4 separate regions of the Homo sapiens genome follow, and regions 2, 3 and 4 are each linked to region 1. The links are contacts of gene promoters, found by promoter capture Hi-C in blood cells and fetal thymus (Javierre and others, 2016). All regions are on one chromosome and are shown on one strand. Each heading gives the region's core, a stretch centred on a gene start or on the middle of the fragment in contact. The rest is flanking DNA. Distances are from core to core; before and after follow the strand shown. Region 1 holds the start of PSMD1 (proteasome 26S subunit, non-ATPase 1). Region 2 holds the start of LOC124907997 (a long non-coding RNA gene). Region 3 has its middle 8.0 kb from the start of SNORA75. Region 4 has its middle 27 kb from the start of SNORA75.

Region 1 (2,740 bases), core at 240-2,739:
AACGGGCTGTACGGAGGTAATGGTCGAAAACAAAGCCTTAAGGCTGATATAGTAACCCAGACAAGAGATGAAGGTGGTTTGGGCCGAGTTAGAAGAAACATTGGTAATGGATGGATTTGAAATAGAATGAGGCCTATAGGTGGCAAGAAACTGAGTGTTTATTTGATCTTTACAAAGCTCTGACTGGAAAAACTTCCTGATACTGAACTAAAATTCATCTCGCGATCACTTGTATCTCTTGGGGACAAAAAGTCTTATTTCAGGTACAAGTGACAGCTCTTCAAATGTTTGAAAGTAACTACGTCTCCCAGTATCTCCAACGATCTCCTTAACCAATCCTCATAAAAATAAAGTTTTGATCGCCTTACCATTCAGATTACTGTCTTCTGCTCACCAGTTTGTTTACAATAAAATGCTTTCTTTGTGGGTCAAACACAGAGTAAGAAAATGAGAAAAGGGTATGTAAATAGGCAACGGAAAAAAGCACCAAGGCTCTGGACAGCTATATGCAAGTCAATCTGTAACGGGGAGCTTAAGTCTCCAATTGAAACTTGATCTCTGTAACTTACTCCATTGCAAATGTCACTACGTGAATCTACCTATGCAATGGTTTGCGCGTATGAAACCTGCTCCGCAGATCCATCCATTCTTTCTTGAATGTACAGTCAACAGACTGAGCACATAACCTCGAAAGGGTATAAGTAGGCTCTCAGTATAAAGGTATCTCCAGGGCGTCTTTAGGGTCTTCGCCGAACCCAAAAGTTCTCTGGGTGTTTTGAATGAACACCCTTGGATCGGACCCAGAAATGACCCACCTCAAACCTAATTTCGGGTTTCATTCTAAGGCGAATGGAGCTCGGCCACGTCCAGAAACACTTCTGTAGCAGTTAGGCTGCCCGATCAGGGGGGTTTGCCTTACTGTTCAATGGCACAGGGGCCCATCCCACCCCGGCCCCCTGCGGGCAAGAACTGGGGCTGGACGACCTCACACGGCCAAGAATGGGAGGCACAGAAAAAAGGTAAGCCCTTCTGGGGTCAGGGGAAGGCCCAGGAAGCCCCTCGGGTCCTGGCGCTGGGGTGTGATTGGGGAGGGATGCCGAGGCGGTCGACCCGGCTCGATTCCCTCAAGCCAGAGAAGCACGCAGTGACCTGATCAGACTCCCAGCCCCCCGGCCCGGGGGTGGGCCCTGGGCAGCAAGAAGCTGCCCAGGCCGGCGTTCCGCCGGGAGGCGCCCAGTCACCGGCCCTGACTCAGCTAAAAGCCGGCGCGGCGGCGGCTCCTCCCTCCAGGCGCTGGCTACGGGCCGCACTCACCGGCCGAGGTGATCATGGCTGCGCCCCTCACTCGCCCGTCGGCTCGCTCGCCGTTCCAGCTGCGCAGTGTATCTGTCAGCTCAGGGGCCGCTCAGTTCACCGCGCCTCCTTGCTCCCCGGGTGCGCTGCTCAGTCAGTCGCCTCCTCAGGCCGCCGGCTCGCTTCTCGCCAGGACCCCGCCCGCCCAGGGGCTGCCCGCCACCCCGCCTGCCGCCCGGCGCGAATTCTCCCCTGGCCTGCGTCTTCTGCGCGGCGGTATACTCCCCAGCCCTCGCGGAAGGGTACACAGAGAACACCATTGTTTTCTCTAAACCTCCTCGAGGTCAGGAGTCCCGCGCAACGGAACACTGGTCTGCACCTGAGGTCAGGCATTAGAATGGCCAGCCCTGCAAAGAGAGGACCCCCACCATCACCCGCCATTGCTGAGAGAAAGGGTGTTGAGGGGAGGTGCGAGCATTGCGCGCAGTGCCACCTACTGGTGGGAGGTCTCGCTGCAACACATCTCCCACCAGATAATGCTTAGGGAATTGGGGCTGCCGCAAACAGCGTTTTTTTTTGTTTTTTGTTTTTTTTCCCAGAAAAGTGGCTTTCAATTGTTTTCTAAAGCAAAACCTATCATAAAAAAAAGAAAATCCCCATAGAAGTGCTTTATTATCATAATGAATCCACAAGTAATCATTGGCTTATTATAAAGTTGAACAATGAAGGTTTTTACTTACTTTTGGAAAAATGTCCAGTGTTGTCAATATATTAAAATGTGCAGTAGTTATATGGCGAAAGCCTTTCCAAGGGAGAAAAAATGTCTTCCATTCTTTCCTTCTATCTGCCCAGGTCCTCTTTCCCCCGACGGCAGTGGGTTCTTCGTTTCTAATACATCTTCAGAAATTTGAAATGGCAGTTGCAATGGCCATTTGCAGTCTTATGCTAGCTTCAAGAAGTCAATTTATTTCAAGAGTCAGTACTGAGAAAGTCTTGACAAGGAATAGGGCAAACGGTAGCATTTTTTTCAGCCACCGGCCTTGCACTATCAAGCTAAACTCTTCAATCGCACAGCGATGGCGAGTTCATTTCTACGGCCTTCTACGTAACCTAGGGGCACAATCAATGTCTTGTGGTTGCCAGTGAATTAAATGTGCTTGATAACACATTTTGTTGTATCTGTGACTTTTTTTGTTTAAATTAGAATTCTTAAACTGTGGTTGTTTAAAATATATTAAATATAATTATTGAACATTTTTGAAGAGCCTGTGGCTCAGATTGAAAGGCAGGGCTCGAGAAGATGTGCATGCAAAGTAAACAGATTACTTGGGGTGTCATTCTACAGAGGTACTTCTTTTTTTTTTTTTTTGAGATGGAGTGTCCCTCTGCCACCCAGGCTGTAGGGCAATGGCGCGATCTCGGCTCACTGCAACCTCCGCCTCCTGGG
Region 2 (2,700 bases), core at 147-2,646, 350 kb before region 1:
CACCTCAGCGTCACGATGCCCCCGGCGGTCAGTTGGGGGCGCTCCCTGCCCTCTTCTGGGATTGCCAGGGCGGGGACTCACCCAGCCCTCCAGCCCGGCCAGCCCCTTGCTCCTCGCGGGGCCCCGCCCCGACCCGCGGCCCTGCAGCCGGCACTGGGAGGTCTACGCCGCCTTACCCCACGCCTCGCGCAGCTCCGCGGGCTGGTCTCGAGGGGAGATGCCCTCGCTCGGGGCGCGCACCGGGTGGCGCCGAGATGCCCACCTCCTCCGCAGGCCCCCGGGATCCATCGGATGCCACCCCCACCACACACACAGGGCTCCCCCACCCTCGACAGCCGAACGCGTTGTCCCCTGCACAGCCCAGGCGGGTTCCGCGAGGGGCTCTGGGTCGCACCGCGCCCCGGGACGCCCGCGCCCACCCAGCAGCTCCTGGCTGCCCGGCGACGAGGAGCCGCGGGGGGCAGGCGGAGCCCGAGGGGGGCAGCTTCGCCATGGGTGAGGGCAGGGATTCCACGCATTCCTGTGGGATTCGGCCGCACCGAGGAAAAACAAAGCCAAGGTGATTTGTGATAGGTCACAGGCTGCACGGCAGGGTCAGTCAATCCCAGCCCAGGCCGGTAGTTCCCAACTTGAGTCACCTGGGAGCGATAAAAAATGCCTGGGCTCGCGCCCCACCCACTCACTCATTCGGATTCATTCTGTCTGGTTGCGATCTGGACTAGATATTTTCTCAAATTCCCGGGGGGCAAAACCCTCTAAAAGGATTGAGCTCTAAGCTTTGGCTCACTTTGGAAGGGTCTTCAGTGAGTATACAATGTATTCCAAGATTCAAGTTTTGTTTTAGAAATATAAGCAAAAATTGCATTCTGTTCGATAATGTATCTGTGTTCATTTTCACATAAAGGCAATTGGTAAAAGACAATTTTCAGAAAAAGGTAGATTCATGACCCTTGTTCAGAAATAAAAAATGAGCATGTATTAAAGATTTATTTTACTCATAAAAAGGACAAGGTAGATGTTATATCTGGTTCAAAGGAGACATCAAAAAGCACAAATTTATATGGAGTGAAGGAATTGAATTGCAAACAGCGGCAAACTGGTTTTTCCACCGTGGGGGTGTTGGTGGGGGGTGGAAGAGAAGTCAATGGAAGCTTCACCTGACAAGACAGTTTGCAAAGCCCTCAGTACTTGCAACTTAAAAAGAGGTGCAAAATAGCTCAAAGACCGTGAATGGGGCTGGAAGCAGACAGGTCTGGCTGTGCTTTAGATAATGTATAGTGTTTCACTGGAACAGAAAAGTTTTTCTTCACAATAGCTTAAATAACTCTCTGGAAACATTTATTTCTTACAGCCCTAATAACGCTGGGCTCCCCCAACCATCACAGTTTCAATCGCTCATTGGACATAACATTTTCCTCCTTTTAGACAGAAACAACAAACACAGATATTTGTGACTAAGTTACTGCTAAGGAAAAAGGATGGGAGGCTGGAGGCTCTTGGGAGACAGTAGAGTATGGGGGTTAGGTGTGCAGGGCACAGAGTTCAAATCGTGCCTGTCACACAATAGCCGTGGGATCCTTCTCTTAGAGCCCTCCATTTCTTACTTTGAACATGGTGTATAACAGGATTCCAGAAGCTTCCCCCTGCTCCTTCTCAGTTTAGGTGCACAGAATAAGTCACCTAGGAACAGCTTTCTTTGTTAAGAGTAGGATTCTTTGAGTGGTCTCCTTTAGTTATGTAAATGTGGCTGAGTAGGCACCCATTACCCTGGGGGAAGAGTGGAACTGGACTTTTTGAGGACTGACAAAGGCTACCCCTTTTCAAGGCCCCTTGGAATGCACAGCCAGTTGCCGGGGAGGAGGGAACCATTTTGCAAAGCCAGGGCCTTTGAGGAGGAAAGAGTTAAGACCCTGGGACCAACTAAAATCTACTGTCTAAAAAGTTGCTTCACCAGGCCAGAGAGAACCTGAGTCTGTGGGATTCCCCCACAGACTGTGTAGCTGACTGGGGGGCCACAGGACCCAGCACCCCTGGCATGCTGCTGCTCTCTGGGGAAAGGTCGTTGAGCTTGTGAGGGTGACTGAGAGAAGGGTAACTTTGTTTTGGAAGCATAGGCCCCACCGCAGCCTGTGCAGTGAAGGTAGCCAAGCCTCAGAAGCCACAGGACTGTGCAGGCCCGCTGTTCCACAGCGCCCCTGTGTGGAGAGAGAGGGAACAACTGGAGATGACTGCTCAGACTTTCCAGAGAACCCTCTCTTTGGAGGAGGGAAATCCCTGAGGTTCTTGGACAATTTGAGAGTGGGTTCCAAGAGGCTGATATTGGATTTTTCTGCCAATAATGGTACATGAGGGATTTGAGCAATCAATGAGAAAAATTAAAAAGTAACCATATTTGTACCCTGAGTTAAAGTCATATTGACTACACGTTAAATGTTTACCAGGGTGCCTGGCATATGAAATGTGCTCCATAAAATGTCAGTTGTTATCATTACCAGGAAGCAAAACTAAATGCCTGATTTTCCAGAGTGGGGCCCCACTGGAGCTGGCCAGAATGGGCCAAAGTGCGCCAGAGGGAGGGGTGGAGGTGCCTCAAAACTGCCCTCTGCTCCCTCAGGCTGCCGTGAACCCCTGCTCTTTGTCCCTTTGTGCTCAGGATAAAGTTAAAGTACTCCTGAACCTAGAAGACCTGAGAAACTGCCC
Region 3 (2,745 bases), core at 201-2,700, 390 kb before region 1:
TACCTGTAATCCTAGCACTTTGGGAGGCCAAGATCTGCGGATTGCTTGAGCCCCCGAGTTTGATACCAGCCTGGGTAACATGGTGAAACTCTGTCTCTACAAAAAATACAAAAATTAGCCAGGCGGGCCTGGCGCAGTGGCTCACACCTGTAATCCCAGCACTTTGGGAGGCCAAGGCGGGCGGATTACCTGAGGTCAGGAGTTCAAGACGAACCTGGTCAACATGGTGAAACCTCACCTCTACTAAAAATACAAAAATTAACCGGGCATGGTGGCGTATGCTTGTAGGCCCAGTTACTCGGGAAGCCGAGGCAGGAGAATCGCTGGAACCTGGGAGGCAGAGGTTGCAGTGAGCCTAGATTGCACCACTGTACTCCAGCCTGGGCAACAGAGCAAGACCTTATATATATAAAAAAAAAAAAAAAAAAAAAAATTAGCCAGGCATGGTGTCACGCTCTTATAGTCCCAGCTACTAGGGAGACTAAAGTGGGAGGATCACCTGAGCCACTGGGGAGGTTGAGGCTGCAGTGAGCTGTGATTGCACCACTACGCTCTAGCCTGGGCAACAGAGGGAGGCCTGTCTCAAAAAAAACAAAACAAAAAAACTCTGGGTAAACTATTTATTTATTTTATTTTTAGTTTTTTATTTTTTAATTTTTATTTTTGAAGATGGAGTCTCTCTCTGTCACCCAGGCTGAAGTGCAGTGGCACAATCTCAGCTCACGGCAACCTCTACCGCCCAGGTTCAAGCAATTCTCCTACCTCAGCCTCCTGAGTAGCTGGGACTACAGGCATGTGCCACCACGCCTGGCTAATTTTTTGTACTTTTAGTAGAGACAAGGTCTTATCATGCTGGCGAGTCTGTCTCAAACTCCTGACCTCAGGTGATTCGCCTGCCTCAGCCTCCCAAAGTGCTGGGATTACAGGCATTAACCATCGCACCAGGCCCTGGGCGAAATATTTAAAGATCAACTTCTAAAGTTGATTTGTCTTCCAATAATACCAGATAGAAAACTGGAGCAACCCAGGGAAGATGGTATCGATCCTGGAAAGAAGGGAAGCACACTGGATGAGACCCATGTTTAACCAGCTTTTCCCCTGAGGGCATCACCCAACTTGCGTGACTCCGGGGGAATAGAGCAGAAAGTGGATGTCTTACTGTGCTGAGGAATCAGGTTGGAGTGTGAGTCGGAAATTTTGGGAAATAATGAAAATGAGGGAGACACAGAGGAGGAAACCATAAAATCTGCATAGAAATTGCCTTCAAATTCCTTTTTTCTTTTAATTTTTTCTTTAATAGAGACAGGGTCTTGCTATGTTGCCCAGGCTGGTCTCAAACGCCTGGGCTCAAGTGATCTCCCGCCTCAGACTCCCAAAGTGCTGGGATTATTGGTGTGAGCCACCACACCTGGCCAGAGCAACCTTTCTTTCTGAGACGGAGTCTTGCTGTCACCCAGGCTGGAGTGCAGTGGCTCACTGCAACCTCCATCTCCTAGGTTCAAGCGATTCTCCTGTCTCAGCCTCCTGAGTAGCTGGGACTACAGGCGCCCGCCACCACACCCAGTTAATTTTTTGTATTTTTAGTACAGACGGGTTTTCACCATGTTAGCCAGGATGGTCTCAATCTCCTGACCTCGTGATCCGCCTGCCTCGGCTTCCCAAAGTGCTAGGATTACAGGCGTGAGCCACTGCGCCCGGCCCAGAGCAACATTTCATAATGAAAAAAAGGTAAATTTACTAGAAAGACATAGCAATCTTAAATGTGCATGCAAACAATAACAGAGTTTTATAACCTGTGAAGCAAAAAATTGATAAAGAGAAATGGACAAATTTTCAATCACAGTTGGAGATTTTAACACCCCTCATTTAGTAACAGATAAAGTAAATAGACAAACATCAATAATGATATAGAAGAATTGAAAACTGTTGGTCATTTAGGTCTAGCTATTGAAAAACACATCTTCTTTTCACGTGCACATAAAACATTCACCAAAATATTCTAGGCTCCAAAACAAATCTCAAGAAATTTCAAAGGATTGGAAAATATACAATCTGATATAACAGAAATAAATTAGAAATGAATAATAAGATACCTAGAATACTCCTAAACATTTGTATATTAATTACATTTCTGAAAAACACTTCTGAATGGATCAAAGTAGAAATCACGGGAGAAATTAGATACTATTTCAAAATGAATGACAATAAAAACACATTTTGGGATGCAGCTAAAGCAGTTCTTAGATGGAAATTTATAACTTAAAATACTTTAGAAAAGAAAAAGAGTTTTAAAGTTAACTGTCTGTTTCCAGCTTAAGCATGTAAAAAAGAAAGAAGAAATACATAGGAAAAGGAAATAATAAAAATAACAATTAATGATGTAAAAAAATCAAGACAAAAATCAGTTCACTGAAAGGATAAATAAGATAAAATTGATAGTCCTCTAGCAAGACTGATCAAGAAAAAAAGAAGACAAAACACAAATAGCCATTATCAGGAATGAAAGAAGGGGTATCATCACATTATAGATTGTACTGATTATTATTATTATTATTATTTTTTTAAGAGACAGGGTCTTGCTCTGTTGTCCACTGCCCAGGCTGGAGTGCAGTGGCATGACTGTAGCTCGCTGCAGCCTGGAACTCCAGGGCTCAAGCGATCCTCCTGCCTCAGCCTCTCAAGTGGCTGAAACCACAGGTGCATGCCACCATGCCTGGCTAATTAAAAAAAATTTTTTTTTTTTAA
Region 4 (2,764 bases), core at 190-2,689, 370 kb before region 1:
GGTCAATTGATCAGTTAGGGTGGGGCAGGAACAGATCACAATGGTGGAATGTCATCTTCTGTGGTTCTTCAGTTGCTTCAGGCCATCTGGATGTATACGTGCAGGTCACAGGGGATATGATGGCTTAGCTTGGGCTCAGAGGCCTGACAGTCAGCCATTATAACCCCTGTGACCTGCACATATAAGTCCAGATGGCCTGCAGGAGCCAAGAAGTCTAGAGCAGACGAAAAATCACAAAGAAGTGAAACAGCCAGTTCCTGCCTTAACTAATTAATCCACCTTATGACATTCTACCATTATGACTTTTTCCTGCCCTGCCCCAGCTGATCAATTGACCCTGGGACATTCTTCTTCTGGACAATGAGTCCCATGATCTCTACACCATGCACCTTGGGACCCCCTCCTCTGCTAACAATAGATAACCACCTTTAACTGTAACTTTCCACTGCCTACCCAAACCCTATAAAGCTGCCCCTTTCTTATCTCCCTTCGCTGACTGCTTTTTCAGAGTCAGTCTGCCTGCACCCAGGTGATTAAAAAGCTTTATTCCTCGCACAAAGTCTGCTTGCTGGTCTCTTCACACAGATGTGCTTGACAAAAATCAAGTGCTCCAACTCTCTCTCTCTTTTTTTTAAAGAGATAGGGTCTTGCTATGTTGCCCAGGTAGGTCTCGAACTCCTGGCCTCGAGCTGTCCTCCCACTTTGGCACTCCAAAATGTTGTGATTACAGGTGTGAGCCCCTTACACCTGGCCCCAGCTATTTTTGAATTGAGCTTTCCTTACACAAAAAAACCCTTGCATCTTTAAATGCATTTTCAGAAGGGATCCTTTTCATTTTGCTGGTTTCCTTCTTCCATTCACAAGAATTTTTCAGCACAAAAAACATGGTGGCTTTTGTGGACTGTCATGTTCATTGCCAAAACTGAAACTGGATAATACGTATTTATCATATGTCTCTTTCTTCAATACTACAACTGTAATGTGGTATGATAGTGTTGTAGGAGTTAAGAAATTATTTTAGGCAGATAAGAGAGGAAAAGGGGTCCCTGGGAAGTTTTCGTTTTTAAAGCAGCTCTTAGAGCCAGGCCGGCAACCTTTGATATGCAAATGAAGGCCATTAGAAACTGGGTCCACCCAAACATGGCGATTCCTGCGAACTTCTTGCCCTTGCCCCACATGTTCCTGGCAACATGGCCACCCCTACATATCCCCATGTGTGTAGAACATCATGGCACCCTGCGTTTGCATATTAAAAGGCTAGGGTGGGAGGGCCAGCTTTTTCACGGGCTGCATGAATGACATGCCTGGTCAAACCAATCCCCTGAGCCCTATGCAAATCAAACACTGCTTCCTCCAGCCTCTACATATACCTGGCTGGTATCCACCACACTTGGGGTTCCCTCTTTGGACTTTGGAGCCCCCCTCCTTCTGTCTCTGTATGGGGGAGCTTCTTTCTGTCTTCTCCCTTTCTTCTTGCCTACTAAACTCTCCGCTCCTTAAAACTACTCCATATGTGTCCATGTCATTCTTTTTTTTTTTTTTTTTTGAGATGGAGTCTCACTCTGTCGCTCAGGCTGGAGTGCAGTGGCACGATCTCGACTCACTGCAACCTCTGCCTCCCTGGCTCAAGCGATTCTCCTGCCTCAGCCTCCCGAGTAGCTGGGATTATAGGCATGCGCCACCACACCCAGCTAATTTTTGTATTTTTAGTAGAGACGGAGTTTCACCATCTTGGCCAGGCTGGTCTGGAACTCCTGACCTCGTGATCCACCTGCCTCAAAGTGCTGGGATTACAGGCGTGGGCCACCATGCCCGGCTGAGCCTGCCTTCTTGTTTCAGCTCTCACACTGTAAACATGTGTCCTTTTGGTGGTCTATTTAGTGCCACTTTTTTTTTTTTTTTTGAGACAGAGTCTCGCTCTGTCGCCCAGAGCTAGAGTGCAATGGCGCGATCTCGGCTCACTGCAACCTCTGCCTCCCAGGTTCAAGCAATTCTCCTGCCTCAGCCTCCCGAGTAGCTGAGACTACAGGTGCGTGTCACCACACTCGGCTAATTTTTGTATTTTTAGTAGAGATGGGGTTTCACCATGTTGGCCAGGCTGGTCTTGAACTCCTAACCTTGTGATCTGCCTGCCTCAGCCTCCCAAAGTGCAGGGATTACAGGCGTGAGCCACCACGCCCAGCCAGTGCCACTTTTTTTGTATTTTGTGCTTTTTGTTGCTGGTTTTCTTGCTTCATGTGGCCCCCAAGTGAACTGCTGATGAGCTTTCTGGTGCTCCTAAGAGCAAGAAGGATGTGATGTGCTATAGGGAGAAAATCTGTGCGTTGGAGAAGCTTCATTCAGGTGTGAGTTATGGTGCCGTGAGTCCAATATTAATGAATCAGGCTGGGCGTGGTGGCTCATGTCTGTAATTCTGGCACTTTAGGAGGCCGAGGCAGGAGGATCACCTGAGGTCAGGAGTTAGACCAGCCTGGCCAACATGGTGAAACCCCATCTCTACTAAAAACTACAAAAAATTAGCTGGGCATGGTGGCACATGCCTGTAATCCCAGCTATTCAGCAGGCTGAGGCAGGAGAATGGCTTGAACCTGGGAGGCGGAGGTTGCAGTGAGCCAAGATCATGTCATTGTACTCCAACCTGGGCAACAAGAGTAAAACTGCATCTAAAAAAAAAAAATTAATGAATCAACTGTATATTAACTTCAGTGTCTTTAAACAGAAACAAACATAAAAAAAGGTTATGCGTTGGTCGACTGAGGAAAAT

Evidence for each region. Contacts are between HindIII fragments. The CHiCAGO score rates a contact against its expected background, and 5 or more counts as called.
Region 2: a contact is called between a fragment that was not itself captured here and the fragment with the promoter of PSMD1 in region 1, in 2 of 17 cell types (M0 macrophages and endothelial precursors). The highest score is 6.5, in M0 macrophages.
Region 3: a contact is called between a fragment that was not itself captured here and the fragment with the promoter of PSMD1 in region 1, in 3 of 17 cell types (M2 macrophages, megakaryocytes and M0 macrophages). The highest score is 6.0, in M2 macrophages.
Region 4: a fragment that was not itself captured here is called in contact with the fragment with the promoter of PSMD1 in region 1 in 2 of 17 cell types (M0 macrophages and erythroblasts); the score reaches 7.1 in M0 macrophages.

What each region holds. Positions count from the first base shown.
Region 1 is chr2:231,055,616-231,058,355 of GRCh38, reverse strand. It overlaps PSMD1 (proteasome 26S subunit, non-ATPase 1), which reads right to left and starts at 1,489. Exons shown (of 25, transcript NM_002807.4): 1 at 1,315-1,489. The coding sequence starts at 1,330. LOC112268432 (a long non-coding RNA gene) reads left to right here and starts at 610. Exons shown (of 2, transcript XR_002959456.2): 1 at 610-1,019. RefSeq lists a silencer at 1,399-1,588. The HindIII fragment of the contact is 9,212 bases long and covers 1-2,740 here.
Region 2 is chr2:231,409,873-231,412,572 of GRCh38, reverse strand. It overlaps LOC124907997 (a long non-coding RNA gene), which reads right to left and starts at 277. Exons shown (of 2, transcript XR_007088118.1): 1 at 1-277. RefSeq lists a silencer at 71-410 and enhancers at 955-1,559, 1,560-2,165. The HindIII fragment of the contact is 485 bases long and covers 1,154-1,638 here.
Region 3 is chr2:231,446,586-231,449,330 of GRCh38, reverse strand. No RefSeq gene overlaps it. Among named protein-coding and RNA genes, the nearest start is that of SNORA75, 8.0 kb to the left of the region's middle. The HindIII fragment of the contact is 7,975 bases long and covers 1-2,745 here.
Region 4 is chr2:231,427,814-231,430,577 of GRCh38, reverse strand. No RefSeq gene overlaps it. Among named protein-coding and RNA genes, the nearest start is that of SNORA75, 27 kb to the left of the region's middle. The HindIII fragment of the contact is 1,792 bases long and covers 544-2,335 here.